Regions from separate parts of the Homo sapiens genome. Here region 1 is linked to region 2. Evidence: promoter capture Hi-C in 16 types of primary human blood cells and fetal thymus (Javierre and others, 2016). All regions are on one chromosome and are shown on one strand. Each heading gives the region's core, a stretch centred on a gene start or on the middle of the fragment in contact. The rest is flanking DNA. Distances are from core to core; before and after follow the strand shown. Region 1 holds the start of WFDC5 (WAP four-disulfide core domain 5). Region 2 holds the start of WFDC8 (WAP four-disulfide core domain 8).

Region 1 (7,475 bases), core at 4,940-7,439, 460 kb after region 2:
GCAAGGCCCTAACTTTTTTCAATTCTATGAAAGCTGAGAGGTGAGGAAGCTGCGTAAGAAAAGTTTGAAGATAGCAGAGGTCGGTTCACAAGATTTAAGGAAAGAAGCCATCTCCATAACATAAAAGTGTAAAGTAAAGCAGCAAGTGCTGATGGAGAAGCTGCAGCAAGTTCTCCAGAAGATCTACACAAGATAATTGAGGAAGGTGGCTACGCTACACAACAGATTTTCAATGTAGATGAAACAGTCTTTTATCGAAAGAAGAGGCCATTTAGGAATTTCATAGCTAGAGAGAAGTCAATGCTTGGCTTCAAAGCTTCAAAGGACAGGCTGACTCTCTTATTAGGGACTAGTGTATTTGGTGACTTTAAGTTAAAGCCAATGCTCATTTACTATTCCAAAAATCCTAGAGCCTTTAGGAATTATGCTAAATCTATTCTGCCTGTGCTCTATAAGTGGAACAACACAGCCTGGATGACAGCACATCCATTTACGGCATAGTTTACTGAATATTTTAAGCCCACCGTTAAGACCTACTGCTCACAAAAAAAAACAATTTCTACTTTCCTTTTGTAATATTTCTACTTATTGACAATGCATTTGATAGCCCAAGAGCTCTGACAGAGATGTACAAGACAATTAATATTTTCATGCCTGCTAACACAACATCTATTCTGCAAATCAAGGAGTAGTTTTAACTTTCAAGTTTTATTATTTAAGAAATACATCTCATAAGGCTATACATTATTTAAGAAATACATCTCATAGCTGCCACAGATGGTGATTCTTCTGATGGATCTGGGCAAAGTAAACTGAAAACCTTCTGGAAAGGGCTCACAGTCTAACTGCTATTAAGAACATTCATGATTCATGGGAGTAGGTCAAAATATCAACATGAATAGGAGTATGGAAGAAGTTGATTTCAACCCTCATGAATGACTTTGAGGGGTTCAAGACTTCAGTTGAGGAAGTCGTCACTGCAGATGTGGTGGAAATAGCAAAAGAACTAGAATTAAAGTGGAGCCTGAAGATGTGACTGAATTGCTACAATCTTATGATAAAACTTGAATGGATGAGGTGTTGCCTCTTACGGATGGGCAAAGAAAGTAGTTTTGAGAGATAGAATCTACCCCTAGTAAAGATGCTGTGAACATTGCTGAAATGACAAAACCAAGAATTTAAAGTATTATGTAAACTTAGTCGATAACACAGCAGGGTTTGAGAGAATTGATTCCAACTGTTTGTTGTTGTTGTTGTTTTCAGAGACAGGGTCTTGCTCTGTTGCCCAGACTGGAGTGCAGTGGCATGATCACAGCTTACTGTAACCTTGAACTCTTGAGCTCAAACAATCCTCTTACCTCAGCCTTCCGAGGGGGTAGGATATAGGCATGCACCACCATCCAGCTAATTTTTTAATTTTTTGTAAAGGTAGAGCCTCACTGTATTGCCCAGGCTGGTCTCAAACTCTTGGGCTCAAGTGATACTCCTGCCTTGGCTTCCCAAAGCTCTGGGATTATAGGCATGAGCCACTGCACCATGCCATGACTCTGATTTTGAAAGAGGATGTACAGTGTATAAAATATTATCAAACAGCATTGCATGTTTGATAGTATTTCACAATATGTGACAGAGAAATCTTTCACAATATACCTTTGTATCACACCTGCACATGTACCCCCTAATTCTAAAATGAAAGTTGAAAAAAAGGAAGAGTCCATGGATGCAGCAAACTTCATAGTTGTCTGATTTTTTAAAATTGCCACAGTCAACCTATCCTTCAGAAACCACTACCCTGATCATTCAGCAGCCTCAACATCAAGGTAAGACCCTCCGCCAGCAGAAAGATGATGATGACTCACTGAAGGCTTACATGATTATTAGCATATTTTAGCAATAAAGTATTTTTAAATTAAGGTACATACTTATTTTAGACAAATGCTATTTTGCACTTAATAGACTACACTATAGTGCAAACATAACTTTTAGATACACTGGGAAACCAAAAAATCCACATGGCTCACTTTAATCCCAGCATTTTGGGAGGCCAAGGTGGGAGAATCACTTGAGTCCAGGAGTTAGAGACCAGCCTGGGCAACATAGGAAGGCCCCCGCCCCCCGCATCTCTACAAAAAATAAAAACTAACCAAATATTATTGCAATATTCTCTTTATTTCAGTGGTCAGGAACTGAACCCACAATACATGCTTGTCTGTGCTGGCATAAGAATAAACAGTCAAAAGAAAAGAACGGGCAAGGCACGGTGGCTCACGTCTGTAATCCCAGCACTTTGTGAGGCTGAAGCGGGCAGATCACAAGGTCAGGAGATTGAGAGGAGCTTGACCAACATGGTGAAACCCTGTCTCTACTAAAAATACAAAAATTAGCTGGGTGTAGTGGCATGTGCCTGTAATCCCAGCTACTCAGGAGGCTGAGGCAGGAGAATTGCTTGAACCCGAGAGGTGGAGGTTGCAGTGAGTCAAGATCATGCCACTGCACTCCAACCTGGGTGACAGAGCGAGACTCCATCTCAAAAAAAAAAAAGGAAAAGAAAAAAAATGAAAACCCATAAACAGCCCCTGTTACAATAAGACTTAAGTTATTGATAAAGTTTTAATTCTTAATCAATGGCAAAAGTTTAAATTATTCACTAAATGATCATAGGACAATTGCTTAATTACTTACAAAAAAAAGATATTTCCTATTTCACGCTCTATACCAAGATAAACTTCAGCTAGATTAAAGAATTATCATGTCTTTCAAAAATCACAAAATAATAACAAGTAAATATAGTGAATATTTATCTAACATCAGAGTCAAAAAGCCTTTTTAGCATAAAAATAAAAGGAGAAAATATGAATGAAAAGATTGAATTGATTACCCCAAAATTTAATCCTTTGGTACTAAGCAAAAATGAGGAAAGAAATATTTGCAATATAGCATCAAAGCATTTATCAAGTTTATCTCATTCAGTTCTCAGAACCATCCTATAACACGTATATGATTATCTCTATCTCTACTGGTATACAAAAATAAACAGGGGTTTTACAAAATTAATGTCAAACAGATAGAGCCTATGGCACCAAGATTCAAAACTAGGTCTGCCTAACTCCAATATACATCTGTTCACTACTGCCCCTTGTGTATGACAGGTTAATAGATTCTTAATATATAAACAGCTCTTAAAACTCAAAAATAAAAGGACCCCCAATAAAAATGAGCAAAATACAAAAACAGGCAATTCACAGAGAAAGGATACAGTCAGTATGCGAATATGAAGAAATGCTCACCATCATGGGTATTAAGAGGAAGAGGAAGACAAATTAAAATGAAATATTGTTTTCCGTTAGCAAAGATTTTATTTACTTATTTTTTTAATATCCTGTATGTAGTAAGAATATCCACTAAGGATCTTTGGCTGTGAGCAACAGCATCTGAGCTTTGGACTGTTCTGTTTAGAGAACTGGCTTATCTGTTCAAGACTCTAATGAAGGCGTGGGCAAGTTAGGGGTGGAGAAGAGTGCAGTGGGTGTAACCTGGATCCAGTGCCCTCAGCTTTGATAGGAGAAGTACCTGCTGATTGGCAACCAACCAGAATGACAGCAGTCAGGAGGCAATGGTTCCACCAAAGGAAGAGACGCTGGGCAGACGAAACAATAGAGGTCTATGGCAGGGCAGGTGGAGGCTCTTGTACACTCACTTACTTCCTTTCTGAAATTTAATTTGACCAGATATATCCAACGCCTGGAAACATGACTGTGCCTTTTGACCTAGCATTTCTAACTTTGACAAATTTACTTTAAGAAAACAGTCAGAGATGTGACTCCAAAATGTACACAAAAAGATGGTTATCACAGCTTTATTTATGAAAGTGGAAAATTGGAAACCTCCATGTTTCATAATAGGATACTGATTGTGTATATTTTGGCATATCTTTTTTCCCTAAAAACTTTACTGAAGTGATGTTTTGACATATAGATCTAACAAAACAGCATGTAGCCATCAGAAAACATGATGTTTAGAGAACATTTCACAGCACAGGAAAATGTCTACAAAATAATTTTAATTTAAAAAGCATTGGCATGGTGGCTCATGCCTGTAATCCCAACACTTTGGGAGGCCGAGGCGGGTGGATCACCTGAATTCAGGAGTTTAAGACCAGCCTGACCAACATGGTGAAACCCCGTCTCTACTAAAAATACAAAAAATTAGCCAGGCATGGTGGCGGGCGCCTGTGGTCCCAGCTACTTGGGAGGCTGAGGCAGAGAATTGCTAGAACCCAGGAGACGGAGGTTGCAATGAGCAGAGATTGCCCCATTGCACTCCAGCCTGGATGACAGAGGAAGACTCCGTCTCAAAAAAAAAAAAAAAAAAAAAAAAAAGAGCATTTCATGGCTGAGCACAGTGGCTCACCCCTGGAATCCCAGCACTTTGGGAGGCCAAGGTGGGAGAATCACTTGAGTCCTAGAGTTAGAGACCAGCCTAGGCAACATAGGAAGACCCCCCATCTCTACAAAAAATAAAAACTAGCCAAATATTGGGGCGCATGCCTATAGTCCCAGGTACTCAGGAGGCTGAGGCAGGAGGACTACTTGGGTCCATGAGGTCAAGGGTTCAGTGAGCCATGATGGCACTGTGCACTCCAGCCTGGGTGACATAGCGACATTCTGTCAAAGACAGAGAGAGAAAGAGAAAGAGAGAGAGGAAAGAAGAAGGAGAAGGAGAGAAAGAAAGAAAGAAAGAAAGAAAGAAGGAGAAAGGAAAGAAAGAGAGGAAAGAAGGAAAGAAAGAAGAAAGAAATAAAAAAGGAAAGAAAGAAGAAAGAAAAAGAAAGAAGAAAGAAAGAAAAGAAAGAAAGAGAAAGGAAAGAAAGAGAGGAAAGAAGGAAAGAAAGAAGAAAGAAATGAAAAAAGGAAAGAAAGAAAAAGAAAAAGAAAGAAAGAAAAGAAAAAAGAAAGAAAGAGGGAGGGAGGGGTGGAGGGAGGGAGGGGTGGAGGGAGGGAGGAAGGAAGGGCTCATATATTTGTCCTCCAAAATAAAGCTTCCAAGGAGGTGCCAGCATTCCAAAAGCAACATCAGATCATAGAAGACAGAGCCTCTCCTATCTTAATAGCTTAGAAGACAGCACGAGAGATTCACATTAAACCCAAGGAAGAACTTCCTGCTGCCAGGGCTGTCCTGGATTGGAATGGGTAAGTGAGACAAGCCCTGTAATATCACCCTCCTTTCTCAGGATCAGATGAGGTATTGACCTGCTTTTAAAACCCAGGAACTGAATGAGGGTGATGGGGAGGCCACAGTGGGAAGTCCCAGCTTAGTCAGGAATTAGCTGCGTGTCCTTGGGCCAGTCCCCTCTCATCTCTATCTCACAGTTTCCTCGTCTTTCAAATGAGAAGGCTGAGAGAATGTACTTCGATGGAGTTTCTGTTTAGGATGTCCCTTAGGATGCCAAGTCTCAGCTCCCTCTCTTCTACCAAATGCAGGAGGCAACATCAGAGATACGAAATCTAAGGTGGGGGTCCCTGGATGAGATGACATTTTTTTGCTCAGGATCCCTTAGGGCCAGAGAAGAGGTTCCAGTGGCCACACATCTGCTGTGACCAGCAAACTTAGCCAAGCCAAAAGCCATGCTCCCCCACCCTCAACAGCCAAGCCAGCCCCAGGAAGAGGGCAGTTCTATCAGAAGCCACTGGTGATCTCACCAAAGGCGGGGTGGTCTTTCTCCCATCCACAGGACCCAAGAGGAGAGGCCAGGGCTGGCCTCACTCATTATGCCAGCCTGGGCCAGCCTTCTTTGGCTGCAAGCTCTGGCCTAACCCTAATGCCTTCTCCCTTCCTAGGCATCCAGAACTCTGCAAACCCCCACTCCTTTGCTATTCAAAGCTGACCTCTACCCGCTGCCTAGACATCGCTGGGGCTTCAACATCTTTGAGAGCCAGGATAGCAAGCATCTGCCTCAACAACCTTCACCCTGTGTACAGATGAAAAAACTGAAGCCCAGAGAGACAAGACTTGCCCAAGATCACAGCCCAAGTCACCGATACAGGCAAGACTGGATCTGAGTCCCCCACATGCAGGATGTGCCGCCACCCTATCTTCAGCTATTGTGACAGCATCCCTTGCACTGAGTCCTCGGGCCCTCAGGGGGTGGGGCCAAGATGAAGCAGGCACGGTGTCACTCCACACCCCCTCTCTTTCCTCTCCTGACTAAGTTTCTCTGGCTTCCCTGAGGCTGCAGGTGTTAATCTGGGGGGCCCTGGGCCCTGAGCCGGCAGCAGAAATATGAGGACCCAGAGCCTTCTCCTCCTGGGGGCCCTCCTGGCTGTGGGGAGTCAGCTGCCTGCTGTCTTTGGCAGGAAGAAGGGAGGTGAGTGCGGGAAATCCCTCTGCTGGGGGGACCAGATTGTCTCTACTTCTCTAGGGAGAGTAAGGGTTTGGGGGAAGGCAGGTAATGCCCTGTGGGGTGTGTGTGCGCGTGTGTGTGTGCGTGCGTGCGTGTGTGTATGTGTGGATGCCTGATTCTTAGTGCTTTCAGAAGCCTGTGTTTTTATGTGTGTACATTTGTGCCTGTCCACCTGCCTGTGTTGGTATCTGTAAGTGTCTTTTCTGCCAGTTTCTCGGTGCTTGTCTGTGCCTGTCTATATGTCAGGGGGTGGCAGGGCGGGGAATGCATGTGCCTGTGTCTGTGTAGACATGTGTCTTTGCGTCTGCTTGTCTGTGCAAAGCTCTGTCTGCACACGTACACTTAGGAATGGCTGCACGCATGTGTCTGAGCTTGGTGCCTGTCCATGTGTGTCTCTGTGCCTTCAGGTGTGGGGAGGGACCCTGTCTGTGCCTGCTGGGCTGTGGTGTGACTGGGTCAGTGGGTCCACCACCCCATCTGTGGAAGGGACTTGGGAATTGAGGAGAGGGTGTGGCTTCTGGGATCTGGGCTTTGTGGGGAGGAAGCTCTGTCTCTAACTCTCATCGCCCCCAACCTCCTGTCCCCATTCCCACCCCTGACAAGGCTGGGGCTGGCCTGCTGACAGGTGAGGGAGGGCTGCTGAGTGGCTAGACAGGTGACTCCTGATCTGGGTGAGGCCTCCACCTGCGTCCTTTTCTGGGGCTGGAACACTCCAACCTACATTCACCTGTGCAACCCTTGCCCTGCCTTAAAGAAAGGGGACAGTAATGGGGACAGGCTGAGGAAGGAAGTACACTGGTGAGCTCCAAGGCTGGACCCTGTGTTGGCTGTGATTCATGCACCATCATCACGTAACTCCTCGACAAGGTGCTGTGAGGACAGGACTATTTTCATCCCCATTTTGCAGATGAGGAAAATTGAGGCATAGCGGGGAACCACTTAACAAGGTCAAAGACTGACTCTGAGTTAGTGCCAAATGTGGCATTTGAATGCAAGTATTTGAAATCAGAAAGATTCACCTTACCAACTATTACAGCAAAAACCCAGGACTGTACAGGACAATGCACCCCCAACA
Region 2 (7,622 bases), core at 3,549-6,048:
AATATCTTTGTTTGTTTATAATTGCTCCTTTAAGCTTCTTTATGATGACCTCTTTACAATTTTTATCATATAATTATAACATCGTTGTCATCCCAGTGTTGGCACCTATTAATAATCTTCTGTCATTTTGTTTGAGATTTTTCTGGTTTTTGATATAACAAATAATTTTGTATTGAAAGTTGGAAACTTTGGGTTTTATTTTATGAGATTCTAGATCTCATTTAAACCTTGATTTCTTCTGTCACCCTTCCAGCAGGGAAGAGTGGAGCACCACCTCATTACTGCCGGATGGGGGTAGAAATCAGGTTCCCCATTGAGTCTTTGTTGACAACTGAGTTGGGGGAGTGGTTTCCTCTCATTACTTCTGGGCTGGGGTGGGAGGTCTAGCTCCTCAATAAGTTCCACTGATACCTCTCTAGCAGAGAGGGATAGAAGTATCCTTCTGCTCCCCACACGGCCTCCACTGACAGCACACGCATTGGGGGAAGGCAGCATCATTACTGTCTGGTGGTGACCAAAGTCTGGGCTCTTTGCAGGGAGACTGGGGCTCCTCCTTTCAGCCTGGTAAAGGCAGAAGTTGAGGCTCCTCTCTCAGCTCTGATGGGGGTGGAACTACGTGTTTGGCTATACTAGTGGTTATTGTTCAATGTTTTCCGTCTTATTAGGCTGCCTCTTTCCTGGTCCTTTGGCAAGAGTGAGCAGGCTGGTTTTTTGTTGTGTTGCATTTTGTTTTGTTTTTGAGGCTTTTATTGTCTCTGTTTCTGTGTTTCTGGGTTTCCAGCTTCTCTAGCACCCAGTCTTGAATATGTGAGGCAAAAAGAAAACTCAGTAATCCCGCTGCCGTGCTGTTCTTCAGGTCTTAAGGTTTCTGGCTCGTCTGCCTTGCCCTTATTACCTTTCAGAATCTTCTTGTGTATTTAATGTCCAGGATTTTTAGCTGAATTTCATCAGAGGAATAGAGAAAAGTCCATCTAGTTCATTTTCCCAGAAAAGTAGAAATCTCTGTCCTATGTGTTAGATTTTTTTAAATAAATAACTTAGGAGAAAAATTAGGAGAATGATCTCAAATGTTAGCATTGGAGAGAACTTCTTAAGCAAGAAATGTAAGACATAAAGAAAAATTAATAAGCATTATTGATTACATAACTCTTTAAATTTTTATAGAACAAAACACATAATAAATAAAAATCAAACTACAGGCTGAGGGAAATATTTGCAATACATATGACTAGCCAGAAGTTATTTTTTCTAATAAACACATTGATGAGAAAATGACAAACATCTCAATAGAAAAAGATTTGCACAAGCAGTTCACGAAAGAGAAAATTCAAATGGCCGATAATTAAAAGCACTTGAAGATTGCTGAGAGTAGGTTTTAAATGTTTTTGTCACAAAAAAAGATAGGTATGTGAGGTGATGGAGATGTTAATTAGCTTGATTTAATCATTTCACAATATAAGTATATGTATATGAAAATATCACACTAATATATATAAAATTATTTGTCAATTATAAATTTTTTAACTAAAAAACTTTAAAAAGCAAAGAAGATTAATATCAGTAGTAGTTGGGGATATGCAAATTAAGCAACTCTGCAATTTCCATAAGACTAGCAGTAATTTAAGAGCAGAGATGTTGAACAGAGTGTGGGCATCTATTTAAGGCAATTTTCAATCTACATTTTTATATGGATGGACTTACATGAGGTAGAGTTAAGTGAAAAGAAGCAAGTACAGTAGTAGTGAATGTATACATCATAATTTCATTTTGTTTTCCAAGTATCAGAACCCATATACATACATGATTGTATATATTTGGACGCAGAGAAAGATGGTAAGGGTACAAAACAGCCCATTAAAATTGGTTATTAATTATCAACCAAGGCTATTAATATTGAGGGAGTTAGAAATGGAGAGATGTGGCTTAGAAATTATTACCTTTTCTTTATATGTTCTTTGTACTGTTTCACTTATTGGGTATTTGATGTGTGTAATTTTATAATTAAAAATTCATAACTAGGACTCTTAGAAACTATTCCCAGTAAATCACCCCCCCAAAATATTGTCTAAAATACTTAAAATGCATGACTCTTTAAATCAATGAGTCAGTTGGCAAGAAAGAGGAATTCTTAAAAGCCAAAAATGATGTGAAGGTCTGACTCCAGAGAGATAAGGAAGTGCTTTAGTTAGAGGCTTCCCTGGGAGTATCTGCCAATGCCTGGTAATCTGCAGTTTGAATTTTAGTGGGCCCCTGGCAAGGGCAAGAAAAAAGAGCTAAGCCCTAAGCAATGTGAAAAGTCAGATCAGAAATCTCACTCACAAGGATCACCAAATGCTGACACCTTAATAAATGGATGAAACAGAAATAAATGGATGAAACAGAAACACACACATGCACAACTGTGGTGAAGGAACTTGCCTGTCTTGGCTTTGGCTCTGAACAAAACAGGAAAAAAGACTACTCTGGGCTGGGTGCAGTGGGTCATGCCTGTAATCCCAGCACTTTGGGAGGCAGAGGTGGGTGGATCACGAGGCCAGGAGTTCGAGACCGGCCTGACCAACATGGTGAAACCCCATCTCTACTAAAAATACAAAAAAATTAGCCAGGCGTGGTGGTGCGTGTCTGTAATCCCAGCTATTCAGGAGGCTGAGGCAGGAGAATCACTTGAACCCGGGAGAAGGAGGTTGCAGTGAGTTGAGATAGTGCCACTGCACTCCAGCCTGGGGAACAGAGCGAGACTCCATCTCAAAAAAAAAAAAAAAGACTATTCTGAGAATTTGTAACTGCAACCTTGTTTCCTTTCATAAGAGCAGAGTAGGAAAATTGGCACATGTGCATGGTCTGATAAATCTAAAGCTATGAATTTAATTCAAAATTGCATGAGTTGTTAGGGAAAAATTGAGGACAAGTTGATTCGGAAGAATTCTCCTTTAAACACAGGAATCCAAGAAATTCCACAAAGTATTGTTACATACATAAACTTCCATTAAATATGTACTCTCACAATAAAAAAAATCACACAGATCTTAAGAAAACAAGATGAAAAAAATCAAGAAAAACAACCAACAGCAGAGGTCCACAAAGACTTCAGATATTGGAGTTACTGTATTGTATTGTAGCGAGTTATTGTATTGTAGGAAAGGAACATAGAAAAAGGATTCCTGATTCTGTCTTTGGGGTAGGAAGGGCACGTGATAAAAACTTTCATTCAAAAGGTAAAAGACAAGCCAATAAGGGTTTTAGAAGATTACCCTTGATCCTGGAAGATGTTCATAATACATATAACTGAGGAAAGACATGACTCCAGTAGAAATCAGCAAGAAAAAGTCAGAAAACCCCAGAGAACAATGAGCAAAACATTTGAAAAGAAAATCAAAGAGAGGATAGCCAAGTGGTTAATAAAGATCTAAAAAGGTGCTCAACCTCATTAGTAGTCAAGAAATTTAAATTAAGTCCACAGTGATGTATTTCCATACTCGTAGCAGGATGGTAAAAATGAAAAGATTGTGACAGTTCTACATACAGCATGGTTATGGAACAATAGGAACTCTCAACTACCAATGGCAAGGCTGTGAATTGGTACAAACTCTTTGGGAAATAATTTGGTATCAGCTTGAGAAGCTGAAGATATGCATACCCTGTAACCCATCATTCCCTATGCTGAATGTATAACCTACAAGAACACCTGCCCACGTGCTCCAGCAAATGCACACAGAGTGTTCATAGCAGCTTTATTCTTTTTTTTACATGAGTAAATTGTTTAAAATTTTTTTGACATTTAAAAACATTTATTAATTCATTTAACGTAATAAACTTATTACATGTTGATATAAATAACATTTTTATTTAGAAAATCCTAGTTTTTTATTATACTTTAAGTTCTGGGATACACGTGCAGAACGTTATTACATACATGCTATGTATACACACAGCAGCTTTATTCTTAACAGCTGCAAACTATAAACAACTCAGTAGAGATGTGTGTAGTCATACAATAGATGGCATGGCAATGAAAATTGACAAAATACAGCTACACAAAACAATGTGGATGGAATTCATTAATATAATGTTGAACACAAAAAGCCAGGCACAAAAGAATACATTCCAAGTGACTCCATTGATATAGAACAGAAGCAGACAAAAACAAAAACATATTTAGGGGAATACATATGATCTTGAAAATATGAAAAAGAAAGTCACTACCATTAGCTGCCTTTGAGAGCATAGGAAGGGGTTGTGACTGGAAAAGAATGAAAAAGGAGCAGAAAGTGTTGGAAATTTTTTACTTGATTTCAGTGATAGTTTAATGAGTGGTCACTTCGTAATAGTTCGTTAGACTGAACATTAATGTTTCATGCATATTTTTATTTTTGTGGTGTTTTTCACAATACATATTTTTACAAAAAGGAAAAGTAGCTCTTCCTTGTTTTGTCTCCTTTTCTTTACTAACTGAACTAGTCAGTCCTAAAGCCATTAGATAGGCACATTTAGCAAGGTAGGCGTTTGCCCCAAGGGGAAGGGAGCCACGGCTGGCTCCGTGTGGGCATCAGAGCTGGAACAGGTCAAGGAGGGTGTCTCTGTAGGAGGGCTGCTGGCCTGGTGTGCTGGAGCCAGGGGTAGATGAGAATGCCCAGTGAAGAGGCAAGAAGCAGCATAGCATGGAGACCAGCCTGCCCATGTTGAGAAAGGCATCCCCCTGGGGCTAGAGGGGCAGACTGGCATAGAATGAGAGCCTGAGTGGGGTGAGCAGAGTGTCCAGGCAGGGGAGCAGATGAGGGAGGAGCCTTAGAGCTGGAGCAAAGTGAGGAAGCTGTCTCCATAGGGAAGAGGCCTGATGTGGACTGTCCGAACTGAAGGAGGGTGAGGAGGGTGTCTATGGGGGTGGGTAGCCAGACATGGAGGGTCTGAGCCCAAGGAGATGAGGAGGATACATAGAAGTTAGAGTGGTCGGCTGTGGGGAGTTGGGCCAAGCATAGTGAGGAGGGGTTCCACAGAACAGAGCTGTCTTGTGTCAGGAATCAGAGCCTAAGCAGGGTGAAGAGGGCATCAATGCATCCAGCGATTCTCCTGCCTTAGCCTCCCTAGTAGCTGGGACTACAGGTGTGCGCCACCACGCTCGGCTAAGTTTTGCATTTTTAGTAGAGACGGGGTTTCACCATGTTGGCCAGGCTGGTCTCGAATGCAACCTGATATGGCTGTTGGAGCCCAAGTAGGGTAAGTTGGGCATCTTTGAGTGGCCCAGTGTGGAGGGGCAGAGCCTGAGCAAGGTAAAGTTTGATATTTTAAATTAAACAAGCATATAATATGTATCTAAACATTTTCAAAAAATTAAAACAGGAGTAGTAGTGATGGGTTATATTATTATTCACAACTATTCATTCCATCTTTCCTTTAAGAGGACACTCCTGTCCATTACCTTGCAATTTTAGAACGGCCCGTGGAAGGAAGACACATTTCTGTCTCATTGACTTTGGGTTTGCTGTCAGCTGTGCTTTGCCTATTGGAGTATGAGCAGATGTAGCATATGCATAGTGAGTTTTGCACTGTGAGTTTCTGCCAGCTCCTTTGTGCTTTCTCTCTGCCAGGAGAAGGGGCCTAATCCACATAGAGGCTGCTTCTTTTGTCTTGGTCCCACAGCCTCAAGTAGAGCCCCCACTTGGAACAAAGCAGTAGACAATTTGCCTAGGAAGTCTTTTGTTGTGGCAAGCCATGGAGAGCTCAAAGTTCTTTGTACACCAAAGTAATAAAAATACAGTTGATTCCCATTACTTGGGGGTAGTTATGTTCTGTAAAGTCACTGTGAACACCGGATTAGCAAATACTGAGCCATTGCTCCTAGGGAAAATGCAAGCCTCTGACCACACATTTTCATCATTTGATCAATACATAACCTTGTTTTTATATGTGCTTCTGTCTGAAGACACATGACAGAGATGGTAATTAGAAGGTGCACACAGAAGACTTCTGGGAAGCTGGCTACTTTCTATTTTTTAATCTGTGTGGTTAATTATTAAATAAAACTCTACATACTTTATTTATTTATTTATTTTTATTTTTATTTTTTTTGTTTTGTTTGAGAGGGAATCTCTCTCTGTCCCCCAGGCTGGAGCATAGTGGTGTGATCTCGGCTCTCTGCAACCTCCACCTTCTGGGTTCAAGGGATCCTCCTGCCTTAGCCTCCTGAGTAGCTGGGACTACAGGTGTGCACCACCACTCCAGGCTAATTTTTGTATTTTTAGTAGAGACAGGGTTTCACCGTGTTGGCCAGGCTAGTCTTGAACTCCTGACCACAGGTGATCTGCCTGCCTCAGCCTCCCAAAGTGCTGGGATTACAGGCATGAGCCACCGTGCTGGCCCTGTCTTTATTTTTTAAACATGTATATAGGCCAGGCGCGGTGGCTCATGCCTGTAATCCCAGCACTTTGGGAGGCTGAGGCAGGCGGATCACTAGGTCAGGAGATTGAGACCATCCTGGCCAACACAGTGAAACCTCATCTCTACTAAAAATACAAAAAATTAGCAGGACGTGGTGGTGGGTGCCTGTAATCCCAGCTACTCGGGAGTCTGAGGCAGGAGAATCACTTGAACCCAGAAGGCGGAGGTTGCAGCGAGCCGAGATCGCACTACTGTACTCTAGCCTGGCGACAGAGTGAGACTCCATCTCAAAAAAAAAAAAAGACACCTTATGTAATATATATTATTGTTTCATTAACATTGAATTGTGGCTGAAAGCCCTGTAACTCATGCCTGAACCAAGCTTATCTGACACAAGTAATTTCTTTGTAAGGCACATTGCAGGCCTCTTGCTCTTAGGACACTTGACAGCACTTTAGTAATTCTTGGCAGCCATTTTAAACAGCAAACTCACCAACAAAAAGCACAAAAATGTGAAAAATGTGACACTAAGTAGACTGCAAAAAGGAAGCTTGTTTATAGTAGTAGAAGAGCTTAAACAAGCAGAGCGTTGCCTTGTTTGACTTCAGCTGGGAATGTGTACGTTGGGGGACTCAAATTTTTTGCCATTCTGCACATATCCCTGAATGACCACAAAAGCATCATGAGTATTGATTTTTGGGTAATAAATAAATTTCAGCAAGTAGGCAAATTGGCAAGTACAGAATCTGAATAATGAGGACTGAGAGTAGATAACTTGTAATAAAATTGTAGAAATGAATCCAAATATGTCATTAGTGCCCATAAATGTCAATTAATAGGTAATAATTTCTGGACTGGATTTTTACAATGTAGATTTACACGATTTGAAGGATAAACTTAAAACATAAGTAGAATGGTTGAACGCAAAAGAATGGAAAAAAGACTAGGCAAATGCAAACAAAGAAGAGAGAGTATAGTTTGATTAATATTAGGCAATAGAAAACTCTAAGGCTGGGCACATTGGCTCACGCCTGTAATCCCAACACTTTGGGAGGCCGAGGCAGGCAGATTGCTTGAGGCCAGGAGTTCAAGACCAGCCTAGGCAACATGGAAAGACCCCGTCTCTACTAAAATTACAAAAATTACAGGTGTGGTGGCACATGCCTATAATCCCAGCTCCTTGGGAGGCCGAGGCACAAGAATCATTTGAACCCAGGAGAGGGAGGTTGGAGTGAGCCAAGATCGTG

The links. The method cuts DNA at HindIII sites, captures the fragments that hold promoters and counts their contacts. A CHiCAGO score of 5 or more calls a contact.
Region 1: a contact is called between the fragment with the promoter of WFDC5 here and the fragment with the promoter of WFDC8 in region 2, in 4 of 17 cell types (M2 macrophages, M0 macrophages, M1 macrophages and 1 more). The highest score is 7.8, in M2 macrophages.

Annotation. Positions count from the first base shown.
Region 1 is chr20:45,113,888-45,121,362 of GRCh38, reverse strand. It overlaps WFDC5 (WAP four-disulfide core domain 5), which reads left to right and starts at 6,189. Exons shown (of 4, transcript NM_145652.4): 1 at 6,189-6,364. The coding sequence starts at 6,280. RefSeq lists enhancers at 5,752-6,251, 6,252-6,753. The HindIII fragment of the contact is 2,929 bases long and covers 5,041-7,475 here.
Region 2 is chr20:45,576,460-45,584,081 of GRCh38, reverse strand. WFDC8 (WAP four-disulfide core domain 8) reads left to right here and starts at 4,798. Exons shown (of 6, transcript NM_130896.3): 1 at 4,798-4,860. The coding sequence starts at 4,835. RefSeq lists an enhancer at 5,048-5,983. The HindIII fragment of the contact is 6,723 bases long and covers 37-6,759 here.